Linked DNA regions of Homo sapiens: all the other regions are linked to region 1. The links are contacts of gene promoters, found by promoter capture Hi-C in human tissues and cell types (Jung and others, 2019). All regions are on one chromosome and are shown on one strand. The core of a region is centred on a gene start or on the middle of the fragment in contact, and the rest is flanking DNA. Distances in the headings are between cores, read along the strand shown. Region 1 holds the start of BPIFA3 (BPI fold containing family A member 3). Region 2 has its middle 34 kb from the start of BPIFA2. Region 3 overlaps BPIFB4 (BPI fold containing family B member 4).

What was found. Contacts are between HindIII fragments. The study calls those that stand out against the background at their distance.
Region 2: a fragment that was not itself captured here is called in contact with the fragment with the promoter of BPIFA3 in region 1 in 2 of the 25 tissues and cell types used here (H1 embryonic stem cells and pancreas).
Region 3: a fragment that was not itself captured here is called in contact with the fragment with the promoter of BPIFA3 in region 1 in 3 of the 25 tissues and cell types used here (H1 embryonic stem cells, lymphoblastoid cells and neural progenitor cells).

Annotation. Positions count from the first base shown.
Region 1 is chr20:33,215,508-33,219,057 of GRCh38, reverse strand. BPIFA3 (BPI fold containing family A member 3) reads right to left here and starts at 1,706. Exons shown (of 7, transcript NM_178466.5): 1 at 1,395-1,706. The coding sequence starts at 1,521. The HindIII fragment of the contact is 14,641 bases long and covers 1-3,550 here.
Region 2 is chr20:33,132,812-33,136,273 of GRCh38, reverse strand. No RefSeq gene overlaps it. Among named protein-coding and RNA genes, the nearest start is that of BPIFA2, 34 kb to the left of the region's middle. The HindIII fragment of the contact is 6,794 bases long and covers 1-3,462 here.
Region 3 is chr20:33,103,424-33,106,538 of GRCh38, reverse strand. It overlaps BPIFB4 (BPI fold containing family B member 4), which reads right to left. Exons shown (of 18, transcript NM_182519.3): 16 at 1,666-1,729. Among named protein-coding and RNA genes, the nearest start is that of BPIFB4, 25 kb to the right of the region's middle. The HindIII fragment of the contact is 8,468 bases long and covers 1-3,115 here.

The DNA.
Region 1 (3,550 bases), core at 457-2,956:
GGCATGCACCTGTAATCTCAGCTACTCAGGAGGCTGAGGCAGGAGAATTGCTTGAACCTGGGAGGTGGACGTTGCAGTGAGCCAAGATCATGCCACTGCACTGCAGCCTGGGTGACACAGTGAGACTCTGTCTCCAAGAAAAAAAGTCAAAATGGTTAACAAAAGTATAAGATGCTCAAACTTCCCACTCACCAGATAAAGTCAAGCTAAAACAAGTAGTTATCACTCAACTACACATCAAACTGGCAAAAAAAAAAAAGTAGAAAAATAGTGTCATAGATCAAATTGTGCCCTCTCCTCCCCCAGTGCGACTGTCTTTGGAGATAGGGCCTTTAAAGAGCTAATTAAGGTTAAACGAGGTCATTAGGGTATGGCCCTAAACTGATGGGATTGGTGTCCTTATAAGAAGAAACAGATCTCTTTCTCTGCATGCACAGAGAAAAGGCTGTATGGAGACATCGAGAAGGTGTCCGTCTGCAAGCCAGCAAGACAGGCCTCACCAGAAACCAACCCTATTTGCATCTTGATCTTGGACTTCCAGCCTCCAGAACTGTGAGAAAATGAATGTGTGTTGTTTAATTCCCAGTCTGTGGTGTCTTGTGAGGACAGCCCTAGCTGACTGATACAGCTCAGTACTCGGCAGTGCTGGGGAACATGGGGAGACAGGTATGCTCATTTCTTACTGGAGCACGTGTAGACCACACAGCCATTCTAGAGAGGATTCTGGCAGTTTTGGTTAAATTGAGTTCACCTCTACCCCAGGACCCAACCACTCTCCTTCTGGGTTTATCCCAGGGAAATTCTCCCACAGGCTGTAACAGGGACACTTGCAAGGAGGTTCATCTCAGTGTAGTTTATAATCATGGAGAGTTAGAGACAACCTGCATGTCCATCCAGAGGGGAGCAGCCAAATAAACTGAGGTGGATGAATCTTATGGCTCTTTCTGCACCAGCTGAAGCAACATAGATGTCAACAGCATAGTGCTGAGTGAAACCCAACACTATACAATTTATGTAAATTAAAGTACAATACAATTTATGTAAATTAAAGTACTGTACATACAAGGACACAGGCATATTTAAGTACATCCATTAAACACGCTGCAATGCCTGCCAAGGCAGTAGGGATATGGGGTGAGAATAAGTCATAAAGGGGGAAAATAAGAAAATAAAACAAAAGGGGGACCTTGCAGTGATTTGTGCCAATGAGGATGTGCTAGAAATTGGCATATGATCAACACAACCTCAATTTTCTGTACTTGAGGTCTAAGAAAAAGAGAAGAGGGAAAGTGACTAACCTGAAGTCACCCAGCGGGTTAGCAGTGGAGCCCAGATGGCACCTTCCCACCTCCCCAGCCCCGTAGGCAGCAGGCAGAGCCCGGGGCTTAGCTTACTTCTTGCCAGGGTGGATTTGTTGTCTCTGTGGGCTTGGGCCAGGCCAGGCCAAGGCTGCTTGTGTGGTGCCAAGGGCAAGGCCAGCAACCCGAGGAAGATGAGGAGCCTCCAGAGTGGACACATCATAGGGTCTGGGACCTGCAGATGTCAAGAGTGTCAGATGGGGCCTGGGCAGACGGCTTTGAGGGTGGCAGTCTGGAGGGATGGTCTAATGGTTTTCTGCAGAAAGATGACATCAGAATTAGCCCCCAGCATGCTGTGGGGAGGGGCTGCACTGGACCCTGGCGCTGCCACCAGGGCTTGCTCACATTGGGAGAGCAACATGTGGAACCCTGGGAGGAGGCCAGGGCTCCAGAGGGAGGCCTTGTTGCTTGGAGACACTCACCAGAGTCTATTGTTGGGTCATCCAACAGGAGTCCTCTCCCAGACCCTGGCACAGGCTGGATGTTAGTGACTCTTTAGTGAACCAATGAATGAATACATTTGAGTGAGGATGGCTAACCCCAGGCTCTCCAATTGGGTTAGGACTTTCTTAAGGGCATGACCAACCACTTCAATCCCTACCACGATACTTGCTTGTCAGAAATTGAGTGTTAATGAATGTTTGTTGAGTGACCAAACGACTGAATTGATGAGTGGAGATGGTTGATCTCTGAATCTCCTCTGAATTATGAGTTTCTTGAGGGCAGGGTATGAGTCTAATTAATCCTCATGTCTACAGTGCCTCCCATGTTTGCCACATGGTAAGTACTGGTGAATGTTTGTTAATGCTACAAATGAATGAATAACTGGATGGATGGATCTTATCTTTCTGGATAAGAATTACAGACTCTTGAAGCCAAAGCATCAGGTTGACCTTGGAGCCCTGGGGTTGGGATTCAGAGAGAATTCAGTTTAAGTCCCCTGTCCTCACTCTTAGGAAATGGTGCCAAGTCCATCTAGTTGTTCTACTCCCAGCCGGTGGAGCTGCCCTTTCCTCCCCTTTTCCCATCTCCCACAACCCATCTGTCAGGAGATCCTGCTGACACTTCCAGAACATGACCACATATAACAACTACTCCTCAGCCACCATCAGCTTGATCTGAATTATTGCCAGTGGGTCCCGGCTGGTTTCCCAGCTTTTAACTGTGCCCACCCACAATCTCTTCCACACAGCAGCCTGAACAGTCATTTTAAGATGTAAGGTAGGCCGGGTGCGGTGGCTCATGCCTGTAATCCCAGCACTTTGGGAGGCCGAAGCAGGCGTATCATGAGGTCAGGAGTTCAAGACCAGCCTGGCCAACATGGTGAAACCCCGTCTCTACTAAAAATACAAAAAATTAGCTGGGTGTGGTGGCACATGCCTGTAGTCCCAGCTACTTGTGAGGCTGAGGCAGCAGAATCACTTGAACCCAGGAGGCAGAGGTTGCAGTGAGCTGAGATCACACTACACTGCACTCTAGCCTGGCAACAGAGCAAGACTCCAACTCAAAAAAAAAAAAAAAAAAAGATGTAAGGTAGACCACCATGCCACTCCTCTGCTCAAAACCCTCCAGCATTTCCTACTGCACACAGAGCAAAAGCCACATTCCATGCAACACCTCCCAGGCCCAGGAGGGTCCCTGCATCCTCTTGGACCGCACTGCCTGCAGCTCTCTCTTCCCCACTCCACTGCAGCAGCACAGGTCTCGGATGTCTGGGCCCCACCTTGCCATTGCTGTGAGCTCTGAGACAAAGGCGTTTGTCACTGTCCCTGTGCTGTTTCCCCATACTACGGGCGACATAGAGGGTCCCATGTGGATGAGGGATGGGAACGTCCTTTGCAAATTTCACAGAAGCCTTGGGGCTATTCTTGGGCAATTCACTCTGGTTTTGTAAGAGATTGTACTGAGAAAGCCTTGGTTCAGGGTGTTGGCTTTCCCTGTTTGAGGTCCTTTCTCAGAGTTCATGCTCCCCTTGGGGATGTTTGTAGAATATCACTTACTTCAAAATGTATTTTTCTAGCCTTCCTGGTCTTATGTAAGTGGTTGGAATTTTGTTATTTATTGTCAAGAAAACAGAGAAGAGTGGGCATTGTCGGGAGGAACAAATCTGTTGTCCTTGGCTCTTTGGACATCTTAACATGGGGCAGGAGCTGTTGGTCCTACCTCATCACAGGCTGTGGTTCTCAGGGCCA
Region 2 (3,462 bases), core at 256-2,755, 83 kb after region 1:
AACGGGAAAATCTGAGCTCTCGCTTGAAGGATGCTGATGAAGCTCTGAATGTGTGGCCCTCATGCAGGGCGGTGACACATGCTAGAAAGAAAGGGTCCAGGCCTCAGGTTGCTGAGGGATGGAGGCTCCAGCAGGATCCCCTCAGGCCACCCTGCAGACGGAGTGGGGAGCCTTGGGCACAGCCAACGCACAGGCCAGGGGGAATTGTTTGCTGCCAGAGTGCACCCCAGCAGGGAGGGCAAGAGAGAGGAGAAGCCTGGGTTCCTGAACCAGATTTTTCCATTTTTTTTCTAATTTTTCATTAAAAATAGATGTAGGAGTTATCTGTGCAGTTTATTATATGGATATATTGCACATAACAAATGGTGCAATGGACCAGGTGTGGTGGCTCACGCCTGTAATCCCAGCACTTTGGGATGCCGAGGCAGGTGGATCACCTGAGGACAAGAGTTCGAGACAAATGGTGCAATGGTGCAGTTTAGGCTTCCAATGTACCCATCACCCTAATAGTGAACATTGTACCCAATAGGTAATTTTCCCCCCTCACTCCCCTTCCCCATTCCCCCCTTTTGGAGTCCTCAGTGTCTATTATTTCCCTCTCTATGCCCTTTTGTACCCATTCTGAACCGGGTTTAGTGTGATGTAGAAAAACAGATAAATTTGCTAGAAAGCTGACACAGGCAACAACATAGGGGGATCTCACAGACATGACATTGAACAAAAGAAGCCAGCTACAGAATCGCTCACACTGTATGGCTCTTTCTGTGAATTTCAGGAGCAGACAGTACTTGCCCACAGAGATAGAGGTCAGAAGAGGGGTCACCTCTGGGGGCAGGTACTGACTGCAGTGGGGCAAAAAGGGGCTCTTTCTGGGTATTGGGAAAGTCCTGTCCCTTGATCTGGGTGGTGGTTGCAAGGGTGCACACATAAGCAAAAACCTGTCTTTCTTACTGCATCTTTTACTGTATACAACTGAAACCTCCATTTAAAACACGTGGAATAGGCTGGGCAGGGTGGCTCACGCCTCTAATCCCAGCACTTTGGGAGGCCGAGGTGGGCAGATCACCTGAGGTTAGGAGTTCGAGACCAGGCTGGCCAACATATGGTGAAACCTCGTTTCTACTAAAAATGCAAAAATTAGCTGGGTGTGGTGGCACACATCTGTAGTCCCAGCTACTTGGGAAGCTGAGGCAGGAGAATGGCTTGAACCCAGGAGGCGGAGGTTGCCGTGAGCCGAGATGGCAACACTGCACTCCAGCCTGGGTGACAGAGCAAGACTCTGTCTCTCAAACAAACAAACAAACAAACAAACAAAAACATGGAATAAAGAAAAAAAGAAAGACTACAGTGGGAAGGAGGACACTCCTTGCCCCTTAAGGGCTGGGAGGTCGTATCAATTACCTTGATGACCCCGTCATGGTTTTTACACCATGTTTCATTGGCTTGAAGACATATCTTTTTCTCATTTTACTCTCTTGGAAATCAGAATGCATCTTACCATCAACGTGTTTAGGTAACAGTGTGTTTTTTTTCTTGCTAGTACATAGAAAAGAGTGGCGTGTTTTACAGCCAATGGCATTCTTTCCATGTCTGCTCTAGAACCCTACAGACAAAGTAGGCGGAAATTCTCTCTTCTCAGAAATTGGACAGAGAAATGGAACGACAACAACTATTGTTTGCAAACACTCAACTTACCCATCACCCCCGTGAATGGCTCCTCACGCGGCTTCCCCCCTGCAGAGTATGGGCATGAACTCGTTTCTGGAAGTGAGGGTGCTCCCTTCTCACCTGGGACCTGTGCACACAAAGCAGTTGTGCAAAGCAGGGACCCTGTTCTCTTCGGGGCTAATGGGGGAGCCCATAGAGTGATGACGACAACATTTTCTAAGCGCCAGGCCCTGTACACAGCACTCCTGCACCATCTCTTTGAGTCCTTATGTCCCTGCCCCCAGGTAGGAGCTTTTCTTAGTCATGTTAGACAGATTACAATTTTCTGCCGCTGATGAAATTATTATTATTATTATTTTGGAGATGGAGTCTCACACTGTTTTCTGGGCTGGAGTGCAGTGGAACAATCTCAGTTCACTGCAATCTCCACCTCCCAGATTCAAGCAATTCTCCTGCCTCAGCCTCCGGAGTATCTAGGACTACAGTCGCCCACCACCACACCCGTCCAATCTATGTTTTTAGTAGACACAGAGTTTCACCATGTTGTCCAGGCCGGTCTCGAACTCCTGACCTCAGGTGATCTGTCTGCCTCAGCCTCCCAGAGCGCTGGGATTACAGGCGTGAGTCACTGTGCCTAGCTGGAATAATTATTTTTGATTATCAGAGCAAGAAATTTTGTCCCCAAAATTAACGGCATTGTCTTAAAAAGGACCACAGACGAGCAAAATAAACACAAAACATCCATGAGCTGACATGGTTTGGGTCCCTGGCTGAGTGGGCTTTGGTTCTCCCTCAGGTCGGGCATCGGCTGTTTGACAGACATAATATACAAAAGACCGAGGGTGCCCATTTTGCAGATCTGGAAATTGAGGCCCTTGGGTTCCCTGGCAGGTCAGTGACAAAGCCAGGACTGGGACCCAGGGCTCCAACTCTTTCCTCCTCATCACCTGCGCATTCCCCAGGGCTCTGAGAGCAGGGAGGGCAGGGTCCTTACCTAGGATGTGGTTCCGGCCACCCAAGACCGGTGGGACTCCTGCATCTGCCTCCGGAGTAAGATCCAGGAGCAGAGGGAAGCTTAAGTTGCAGGTAGGCAGGCCAAGTGGGGGCCGGGGCCAGGGGTGGGCAGAGGCTTGAGAGGCCTGAGCAGGGCTCCTGGAGCACCAGTCACTCTGGCTGACACCAGGACGGAGGTGGGGAGGGCATCCAGGGCCCTGCCCTGGAACCCTGAGGGGAATGAGGCCATAAGTCATCTGGGCTGGCAACTTTGGGAGGAGTGTGACTTCCTGAAGCCACTGCGAGTCCATGTATGTTCTGGTGTGTGTCTGTGTCTGTGTGTGCTTTTGTGCAGGTGCCTGTGTGTGTCTGTGTGGACTGCATCTGTGCATGTAACTGTATGTGGCTTTGTGTGTGTGTACGTGTGTGCACTTGTCTGTATGTCTCTTGGGGGGCGGGTCTCTGTTCTGAGTGAATATCCACAATGCATGGGGAAGAGCCCACCCCTTTCCGCTGATTGCTCAAGCTGTCCTAAGCCCGGGGAAGCCAGCTCCGGACTCCAAGGCAGCTCCCTGGGGAGTCTCTCCGTGTTCTTGGAGAGAATCACTGTCTGGGGGAGCCCGCTGCCCTCCTGTGAGGGTCTCATCGTTCCTCAGAGAAATCTCAAAATTCCCATGAGAATGCACACATTCCTGAGAGGACAGCCCAAATTCCTGAGGAATGCCAGCCTTTCTTTATGAAATGTCCCTATTTCCAAAAGACCTTTTACTTGTTTCTGAAGGAATTCTAATGACGCTTCAG
Region 3 (3,115 bases), core at 466-2,965, 110 kb after region 1:
TAGCTGGGTGTGGTGGTGCACAGCTGTAATCCCAGGTACTCGGGAGGCTGAGGCAGGGGAGTCTCTTGAACCTGGGAGGCAGAGGTTGCAGTGAGCCGAGATCGTGCCACTGTACTCTAGCCTGGGCCACAGAGTGAGACTCCATCTCAAAAAAAAAAAAAAGAAAGAAAAGAGCTGTGTCCCCAGCATCACCCAGCCCTTCGCCCAGTCATAGAGGAGATGGCAAATGTTTGCCGAGTGAAGTAATGGAAAGTGCACGTGGAGCCCTAGCCATTGACTCTGCCGTGGGATGTGCTGTTTGTTTTCAGATTGTCAGAGCCTAAGTAAACCTGCTAATTACTGTTCTAGAAAGAGAGCAGGAAGAGAGAAAAAGAAGTGGGGTAGGAAAGAGTGGATGGGGGAAGTAAATTAAGTGAAATTTAACAGACTTCTCTATTCCAGCAGGACTTTTCAAAAAGCTAAGGACATTGTGAATCTACCCTGCAGGAGTATCTTCAGCACTTCCCAAACTTGCTCGGCCATGGAACGCTTTTTGCAGGGTATTTTGTGGGACTGCTTTACGGAGCTCACTTTGGGGACTATGGACCTTGTCCAAGCTCTCATTTTGAAAATGGTGAATTGCACTTCAGTATGATTAAAAGACTCGCCCCCAAGTTCACACCACTCTTAGTGATTAAGCCAGGCAAGACGCTCCGTCTCTTCCCTCCCAGGTCAGCCCAGCCCAGCCCCTGACCCCATCCTCTCACAGAGAAACCACCACTTTCCCCACCAGTGAGACTCGGCTTCCTCTGACCACAGGGCCCAGAACAAGGGTTTGTTTGACATCAAGATGGCTCCAACAGAACCCCCGCTGGTGTAGCTGATGACATTGGCTGGGATGTGCCAGCCCTCCTTGTCTTCTCATCCAGGAAGCAGGAGTGGGAGAGAGTCTGGGGCCCAGTGACCCCAGGGCTTGGGCAGTTTCCCAGTCCCAGTATGTGAGTAGCCAATGACCCCCATAGTTCAACAAGCAGCCTTCCCAGTAACATTCCTGAGACGCCCCAGAGAGCAAAGCAAGCTCAGTCTACTCTGTTTATAAAGTTGGGCAAGAAAACCTCCTAACTTGATGTGGTTCCCTAGGGGGGCAGATTCTGGGCTAGGAAGGAGGCTGGGGATGTCGATAAGAGCAACTTTAGCTGTATCTGCGCCAATGGAACTTTTCACAATAAGAATGTATTCCTGTAGTTCCTGTATCATTAAAAATAAATACATGTTTAAATATGAGTCAGGAAAGATCTCAATCATATGGGAAAACAATGGAGAAAAAGAGTTTAGAAGGAAATATGCTCAGATGTTGAGATTCATTGCCTCTGCGAGGTGAGTTTTTTTTAAATTGTTTTATATTTTCTAAAACTTGCACACACACAATGTTAATACATAATCGGAATTTTCATAGATAATCAGAAAAATAAAACAATCAGCCAAACAAGAAAGAAGCAAATAAGGAAGGTGCTGGAACTTTGGGGGCCACGTTTGGATTTGGAGGCTTTCATCGACACGCTTCAAAGGAAGTGCTCAGAAATACTATTGAGGTAGGATAGATGCACATCCAGCATGCCCAACAAGCCAGTATCCCCCAGTACCCAAGCCACAAGCTCCCAGAGAGGCACAGGCACCCGCTCTCACCGTTCATTGCGGGCATGAATGCCAGGTCAAAAATCTTCTCCACCAGCACCTCCATGAGGCCAATCTGCAGAGGAAGAAGGAGGACAGAGCCTGGGCAGGGGGTTTGCTCAGCTCCAGAGGGCCCCTTGGGTCTGCTCCCCTGGCTCAAGGTGGAGACACAGACCTGCTCTGGGAGAGTCTAGGTTCTGGCAGTCAGAACCCCTGAGACCCCAGAATTTCTCACCGGCAGCCTTAAGGTGCCCCCCATCAACTTGCACATTGTGCAGATGGGCAGACTGAGGCCCAGCATGGGTGGTGGCCCAAGGCCCCTATGAAGCAGGGATTGAGGGAGGCCTAGTTCCTCCCCTGGGAGGCACAGAGCACAGGTTTCAGGGTGGCCTGGCCCCGATGGCACTGTCATGGCATCACAGAAGTCCCAATGGCCCTGGAGCCAACACCCCAGGTTCCCATCCCAGCTCAGTCTCCGTGGGCCTCTGGGCAGGCTCCTTCACCTCTCTAACCCTCAGCTTCCTCAGCTGTAAAATGGGTCAGTGAGCTGAGTTTGCAAGGATGCGGTGAGGATGGTGGGTAGATCACGTAAAACTCCTGGCCTTGAGCCTTTTCATATGTTACCTCCCTTAACTTCTCTAAGCCTTGGTTTCCACATCTGAAAACAGGAGTGAGTAACCCTTGCCTCATAGGGTGGTTATAAAAATCAGACATAAGCCCCTATATGTAACATGCCTGATGTTCCAGTCTGCAGAGGGTGAGGGCATGGACTCACTTTCCGGCAGTGCCTCTTCCTAGCTCTGTTGCCTTGGGCAAGTCACTTGAGCTTACCTTCCTTATTTGGAAGAATGGGTGTAATAATAATACCCAAATCATAACACGGTGGTAAGGATTAAATGAGAAAACCTCATTAAAAGAGAAAAAAAAGCATAATTCAGTGCCTAGGGCCCATCTCGATAGCTTCATTAATTCATTAATTTTACACTGTCAGCCCCTTTCTTCACTTGGAGTCCAGAGATTTCAGTTCTAATCCCAACTCTGCCCCAACCAGCTGGGAAGCCTTGGGCAGTTTATCCTTATAAAATGAAGCTGGCAAGATCGGCTTCACAGGCTGTAGCTTTTTGGGTTAGAAAAGCTATAAAATTAGCAACACAATGAATGGGTTTGACTTTTTCTGCACATGTGGAGATCTCATCCAAGCTTGTCCCAGAAAGCTAGCAGATGCTTAGTTGTCAATTTATAAAAAGCGGAGGTGGGGGGGTGGGGAGGAAGGAGTGTTTCTGAAGCCTTAGGTGGGGGTGGGGCACCCAAGAGTGAACAAAGAGATAAAACAGGACCCAACGCTAGAATGTGAGCATCTCAGATTTCTGGACCCTTGGAAAAGCAGAATTCCACAACCCAGGGGCAAGAAGGGAGGTTAGAAATGAACTCAAATTGTATTCATTTTACAGATGGGGAAACT